Regions from separate parts of the Homo sapiens genome. Here region 1 is linked to region 2. The links are contacts of gene promoters, found by promoter capture Hi-C in blood cells and fetal thymus (Javierre and others, 2016). All regions are on one chromosome and are shown on one strand. Each heading gives the region's core, a stretch centred on a gene start or on the middle of the fragment in contact. The rest is flanking DNA. Distances are from core to core; before and after follow the strand shown.

Region 1 (3,560 bases), core at 854-3,353, 170 kb before region 2:
AACCAGTCCACGCTAGGAAAGGGCGGGAATGGCATCAGGATACAAAAGAAACTTTCCCAAATCATATATGTCTGAATTGTCATCACCACTACCACCACCATCCCTGTGCCCCTGGCAAATAAGGTTTGAGCAGAGGATGTGCAGCTTGTAAAAAGCTCCCGAAGACGATTAATGCCACAAACTTCCACCCTGGGGATGGCTGACCTTGAAGAAATAGAAAGCTTTGGATAACTGGGAGGGTGCAGCTAAGTGGTGAAGACCACAAACTCAGTAGGCCTAAGATATCAAATAGTTATATAAAGCGGCTCTAAAATAATAACCACAAATATCAAAGATGACAAGGATACCACAAAAAGTATTGCTAGTACCACAGCCATTTCAGTCTCATGAGCAAAAAGAAAAGTTGACTGTCTCATTGTTTACTATGGAAGATTATAAAAACTGGATGCATTTTAAGAATGTGTACCTGTAGTCAAATGTGGGTTTGTGGATATGTGTATAAAGAAAGCAAGGATAACATTTTGGCTATTTTAAGGTTTAGGTCTGCACGTTCATTGCTCAAGAAGGGAAAAGCAGTATCATATTTCCACATGATGCCAGACTACATACAGAAAACAGAAAATGGTTACCAAATATTTTCACATTTTTCTACTTCCTATCCTTAAAAAAAAAAGAACTTTTTATTATAAGGATTATGACATATTATTTTAAGATCTGACATACAAATAAGAGATATAAAGAAACACCTTCCTGTGACTTTGTGGTGTCCCACTAATCTGTTGCTATTATTAAGCGCTGCCTAACCTAACCCTGCTTTTGGTTTTAAGCTTGTGTTCTTCTAACTCACCTTGCACCTTGGAGTCAAAGTCTTCCAAGTCAGCTTTATGGTCAAAGCTGTTTCACAGTGATTTATCCTCAGATGCCTGCAGCTTTTCTCCTTGGGACATGATATGTCTTTGACCTTGCTGGGGCTATCTGGGTAAATTATAGGGGTGGCTCCTTAATATCCTTCTGTTGCTGTTTTCCCAGCAAGTGGCAGAACCTGAAAAAGAGAGATTACAGTCATATAGTACATCTTTACAAAACTTTCGTGAGCCTCTCACGGGGACTGCCTATGGCCAATCAGAAAATTCCTCCCAATTTATCTTTTGAACAGGAAGTTCATATGGGTACATGCCTCAGCTTTTTATCTCCTTTGTTCAGTTTTATGTAACCTCAAAGACGTAACCACTGACCTTCTCAGTAATCAGTAACATTCATAATTTACATCTCACCCAGAGCTTGGAGTATGAAAACTCTCAAGTGATATAGCAAATATTTCCTAAAAGGGGACAAAATATATTCTCCAGGACCACATTTAGCCCTCCAATTAAATATAAACCTCAACAGGGCTTTTTTGTTTGTTTGTTTTGTTTTGAGACAGAGTCTCGCTGCAATGCCCAGGGTGGAGTGCAATGGTGTGATCTCGGCTCACTGCAACCTCTGCCTCCTGGGTTCAAGTGATTCTCCTGCCTCAGCCTCCTGAGTAGCTGGGATTACAGGCACACGCCATCATGCCCAGCTAATTTTTTTATTTTTAGTAGAGATGGAGTTTCACCATGTTGGCCAGGCTGGTCTCGAACTCCTGACCTTGGATGATCTGCCTGCCTCGGCCTCCCAAAGGGCTGGGATTACAGGCTGAGCCACCATGCCTGGCCCAATAGAGTTTTTAAAAATAGTAAGTATGAAGTGGTTTCATCATACATGCACATAGATGTACAATCTCTAATGCCCTGAAAAAAACGCATGAACAGTCTCTAATTTGCTGTAGAAGAGAACTGTAGCCAAACTCCTAGAACAATCCTCTAGCAAGAAGAACAGACTCTATACATACTATAAAAGAATATAGTTTTTAACTTGACATAATTTCTCAGAAAGCAAAGAAACAGTATGCTATGGTTTGGATATAATTTGGCCTCACCAAGTCTCATGTTGAAATATGATCCCCGGTGGTGAAGGTGAGGCCTGGTGGGAGGTGTCTGGGTCACAGGAGCGGATCCCACATGAATAGCTTGGTACCATTCTGAGGGGTGAATTCTCACTTTTATATCCCACAAGAACTGATTGCTGAAAAAGAACCTGGGACTCCTTTTCTCTCTCTCTCTTGCTTCCTCTGTCACCATGTGATCTCTGCATAACAGCTCTCCTTCATCTTCTGCCACGAATGGAAGCAGCCTGAGGCCCTCACCAGAAGCAGATGCTAGCACCGTGCTTCTTATACAGCCTGCAGAACCATGAGCCAAATAAACCTCTTTTCTTTACAAATTACCCACCCTCAGGTATTCCTTTATGACAACACAAATGGACCAAAACACAGTATTTTTACAAGAGAATAAATTCATCATAAGATAAGAGAAAAATGTGACAAGTAATCCAAAGAAGTTACTCTCTGATCCTGAAACATGACAGACGTTTTTATCCTTCCAGCCATAAACCTCTCTAGCAGGCTCCTTTATTCACAAGCCAGCTTTAAAAATCACTCCCTGGGTTTGACTTTTTCAAGCCTATCCTTTCACTCTGTTTTAGTTTTCCTTTTTTTTTTTTACTTATTGAGAATGGGAAAAATGCACACACAAGCACATGTATACATACATACATATTCTAAGGCTACAACTTACTGAAACTGCAGAAGATTTATGTTTGGCCAGCATCCAATGCCATGATTGCCCCCTTAAGTACCATCTTTCTGCAAAAGTTTTTGTTCTAACTCCCCTTCCACTTCTTTAAATAACATTTTTAAAAAAAATTCTACTGTGTTGTAAGACGATTCCGTGTACCTTGTAAGTCCTGAGTAAAATTTAATTGTTGATTATGATGATGACCTTGAATACTAAGGCTAAGATCCATCAGAATTCTTTTTGTATGCTCAGCATTGCATCTTTTTATTTTCTGCACACTACTCAGTCTATGCTCTTTAATCTCATTTAATTACAGGCAGATGGAATATGAATTGTCAGCTATAGAAACTCCCCTAGCAGGCCAGGCGCAGTGGCTCACACCTGTAATCCCAGCACTTTGGGAAGCCAAGGTGGGTGAATCACCTGAGGTCAGGAGATCGAGACCAGCTTGGCCAACATGGTGAAACCCCATCTCTACTAAAAATACAAAAAATTAGCTGGGCATGGTGGCAGGCACCTATAATCCCAGCTACTTAGGAGGCTGAGGCAGGAGAATCGCTTGAAACCGGGAGGTAGAAATTGAAGTGAGCTGAGATCATGCCATTGCAGTCCAGCCTGGGCAACAAGAGCGAAACTCTGTCTAAAAACAAAAAACAAAAAGCAGAAACTCCCTTAGCCATCTCTTCCTTCCTCCTTCCTATGATGAACTCTGTCAAGCTTTGGAAACAGAGAAGACACTGATAAAGAGGAAAAAGAAAAGGCAAGCTAAAGAGTCCCCTGTGCTATCCTGCAGCTCTTTTTGCTCATTCACCCCCGTTCCTCTGTCCTAGTCTGATTCTCCACAAGTTCTTACCATTCTAAAATAACAAGTGGGAAGGTAAACCAGAAGAGAGGACCAAGGGG
Region 2 (3,769 bases), core at 1,246-3,745:
CCAGTTGAAGATGGCTCAAGCTGCAGCTGCTGAATGAAACTAGTCTGTTAGGGTGTGGTGGCTCACAACTGTAATGGGAGGATGAAACGGGAGGCTCACTTGAGTCCAGGAGCTTGAGACCTGCTTAGGCAACATAGTGAGACCCTGTCTCTAAGAAAAATAAAAAAAATAAGCTGGGCATGGTGGTGCACATCTGTAGTCCCAGCTACTCGAGAGGGAGGATGAGGCAAGAGGATTGCTTGAGTCTGGGAGGTGGAGGCTACAGTGAGCTGTGATCAAGAAGCCACTGCACTCTAGCCTGGGTGACAGAGTGAGATTCTGTCTCAAAAAAAGAAAAAGAAACAGAAACTAGACTGTCTAGCTAGGTACTACAGTGAAACAACCTTCTGGCTAAAACTGAATAGTCAAAAATGTGACAAAGAAAATAGTAAAGTTTATTTCTTTTTGGGAACAAGATCTTTAATTTCTCTGAGGCTAAAAGAGAGGGTACATTTCGGTGTTGGGCCTTTAATTTCTCTTATAGAAATTTATCAGGGGAAGGTGGTCCATCAATTTCAAATATGGGACAGTTTTTTGGGCTGCCCACAAGGGCTCTGTGGCCATGTTACACTCAAAATATAAAAATCCTCTCCACTAAGGTCATAATTGGACAGCGATAAAATTCATTAGTCTAGTACAGGGGTCAGCAAACCACAGCTCCATTTTTGGTATAGCCCATGATGTAATAATTGTTTTTACAGTTTTTAAGGACTGTAAAAACAGACAAGGTTATGTGACAGAGACTGTATGTGGCCTGCAAAGCCTAAAATATTTACTAGTCAGCCCTTTACAGAAAAAGTTTGCCAATTCCTGATCCTGTATGCTGTGGCCCTACAATTAATTTTGTTGCTGTCACTCTGACACACTTCAGAGGGTTGGAGAAGTGGGAGGAAGGGACTGTTTACTGTGTTGTTGGTAGAGTCCCAGGCTCCTTCTCTTTGGTGGATGGAGCAAGACCTCCAGAGACTGAAATATCTCTGAGCCCTTTATTTACATAAATCCATATTAATACCATTCTCAGTTTGGAAAACAATTTTTTAAAAAATTGAGAAAATATTTTTGTGCAAAGTACCAACAGAATAACATACACAGCAACTATTTACATGGGGCAGACGAAGGCTACAATTTAAGCAATTGCCAGATTCTCAGGATTGAGTCCTGATTTGAGATCACAGGGAGTAAGCTGTGACATCTTGGCTACTACTGATCAATAACAAGGACATTATTGAGGGCTTACCCTGTGTGAGGCACTGTGCTGACAGCACATATTATGTCAAATAACCCTCAAAATGATCCTTCCTGCCATGTGTCATTATCACAATGATTTGGCTCTTCTTAAGGCAGTTTACTTTGGTCTGCTTTCAAAGAAAAGTTGCAGTAACAGAAAGGGTCAAGAACCAAATGTATGCTATTAACACTTTCAGAAACAGAGCTCATTCAAAACAATTTTCCAAAATAACAAAATGTGAAGAATATGTAACAGTGACCGTTTTAAACACCTGCACTTATTCTTTCTGTACATGTATTCTTTCGCCTGGTACTAGGAAAACGTCCAACACCAGAGGTCCCTCCCCAGTTTAAAGTACTTCTGTCAAGTTGTTAACGCCTCATCTGTACCTGAGGAAAAGTAGAGTTTTTCCGTTTTTTATATATGGAAATCTGGGCATCTGAGAGAGGAAGGTCAGAAAAGTACTCAAAGTAGGCTAGGACGAGTTTGGCAGTGAACTCAAGAGCTGGTGGATTAGTGAGGGCGAGGGAGAGGGGAAGCCCAGCCACTGCTGTTCTGTCACCCGGTGGCCGCGGCTGCCGGGTCCGCTCTCGTGGGGCAAACACTCCGCATCCCGTCCCCTTCCCTGCAACCCGGCGCAGCTTCGTGGGAGGGGAGCCTCTCCTCAAAGCAGCCCCTGTCCCCAAGCCAGGTGCTGTCTGGTCAGCTGCCGGGAACGGATGTTCCACTCCTCCCTCACCCCGGCAGAGCAGCAGGTGAAGGGAGGTCCAAGAGGCCCACTCCTTCCCCCGAGGGCACCCCGACCCGGGCACCCGCACCTTGATGGGCTTGGTGTCGTTGGGGCCGAGGCACTGGCCATGCATCTCCTCCATGGCCCTGCAGGCCTGTGAGCTGCGGGCGAACTTGACGAAAGCAATGCCCTTGGACTCCTTGGTGTGCTTGTCCCGCACCACCCAGATGTCCTGGATGTCGCCAAAAGGCGAGAAGCGCTCCCTCAGCACCGACTCAGGTGTGTACTTGCTGATCACAAGGAAGATGCGGCTGTTGGGCGGTTCGTCCAGGCTGTCCACGCCCGGGCGGAAGCCCCCGCCGCTCGCAGAGCTGCCAGCTTCGTCCATGGTGCTCCACCCGAATGCAGGAGCCTCACTGCTCTTTGCTTCTGCGGTGTCTGCCACCGCTGCTGTCTCACACCCAAGCCTTTGCCGGCTCGGTGCTCCGCTTCCGGGAGAAAGAGGAGTCCGGCGCCAGGCGCTGTCCAGCCGCGCAGGATGAGGCCTTCCGGGGAGCGGCCTGCAGCGCCCCCTGGCGACGCGGGGGACCCTGACCCAGTCTAAGTCTCAAATCCTCAAATCCAGCTGAGCCTAGGCCCAAGTTATCAGTTGTGCAATCGTTCCCTGCAGGCAGAACAGCGCTGCCTAATGCACAGGCTTTCCCAACGCTGGCTTTACCCCACCCCTAAGGCCAAGGATTCTTTCCAGTGTTAAAGAAAAAATTATTCATGACACTCGTTAGAGATGGTACAGGAAGGCCGACTTTGACAAAGGGAGCCATGGAGATAGGTCCAGGGACAGCTGCAATGGGGTCTTGCAGTGGGAGAGAGAGATTGGACTGAATTTTGACTCTAATAAGGACAAATTTCTAACCAAGAAGCTTGGTGGGAGGTCAGTGGATGGAAAATTACAAAGAGGGAACATCAGTGTTAAGGAGGATTCTGGCTAAACCAACTTGACAGGATAGTTGCTGAAGGCAGGCCAGGGTGATTGATATCCATGGTAGTCAGACACCAAGAATGAGGATTTTCACTACACTGATTCAGCAGGATTCTTGCTCAAATTGGATTCTACAAGGACAGAAAGCCCAAGATCAAGCCTAGTCAAGCAGAGGACTCAAAGGAGCCTAACTAAGTTTTGGTCAAAGTGGAGAGTTGTCACCATCTTGGTCATAAGCTCAATAGATGATCAATATAGGACAGAGTTCAAACTATATAGCATTAGAGTTGGAAGGAAGCTTTGAGATCATTCAATTTCAGCGTCATTTGTTAGAGATGAGGAAACTGAGGCCTATAGCATAGCCAAAGTAATAGAGATAAAAAGTACGACTAAAACCAGAACTAACTTGGCCAGGCGCAGTGGCTCACGTCTGTGATCCCAGCACTTTGGGAGGCCGAGGCGGGCGGATCACGAGGTCAGGAGATCGAGACCATCCTGGCTAACACGGTGAAACCCCGTCTCTACCAAAAAAATACAAAAAAATTAGTTTGGCGTGGTGGCGGGCACCTGTAGTCCCAGCTACTCAGGAGGCTGAGGCAGGAGAATGGTGTGAACCCAGGAGGCACAGCTTGCAGTGAGCAGAGTTTGCACCACTGCACTCCAGCCTGGGGGATAGAGCGAGACTCCACCTCAAACAACAACAACAACAACAAAAAACCCAGAACTAACTCCATCTGTTGATTTACTCAACTTCTACAAGCAACCCTGGGGTTGGAGGGCAGTGAGGGTGGAC

What was found. The method cuts DNA at HindIII sites, captures the fragments that hold promoters and counts their contacts. A CHiCAGO score of 5 or more calls a contact.
Region 1: a contact is called between a fragment that was not itself captured here and the fragment with the promoter of RBM45 in region 2, in 3 of 17 cell types (monocytes, megakaryocytes and naive CD8 T cells). The highest score is 7.3, in monocytes.

The regions. Positions count from the first base shown.
Region 1 is chr2:178,282,409-178,285,968 of GRCh38, reverse strand. It overlaps OSBPL6 (oxysterol binding protein like 6), which reads right to left. Exons shown (of 25, transcript NM_032523.4): 2 at 848-1,042. Among named protein-coding and RNA genes, the nearest start is that of OSBPL6, 90 kb to the right of the region's middle. The HindIII fragment of the contact is 2,547 bases long and covers 830-3,376 here.
Region 2 is chr2:178,111,163-178,114,931 of GRCh38, reverse strand. RBM45 (RNA binding motif protein 45) reads right to left here and starts at 2,495. Exons shown (of 10, transcript NM_152945.4): 1 at 2,086-2,495. The coding sequence starts at 2,385. RefSeq lists an enhancer at 2,290-2,459. The HindIII fragment of the contact is 3,392 bases long and covers 1-2,919 here.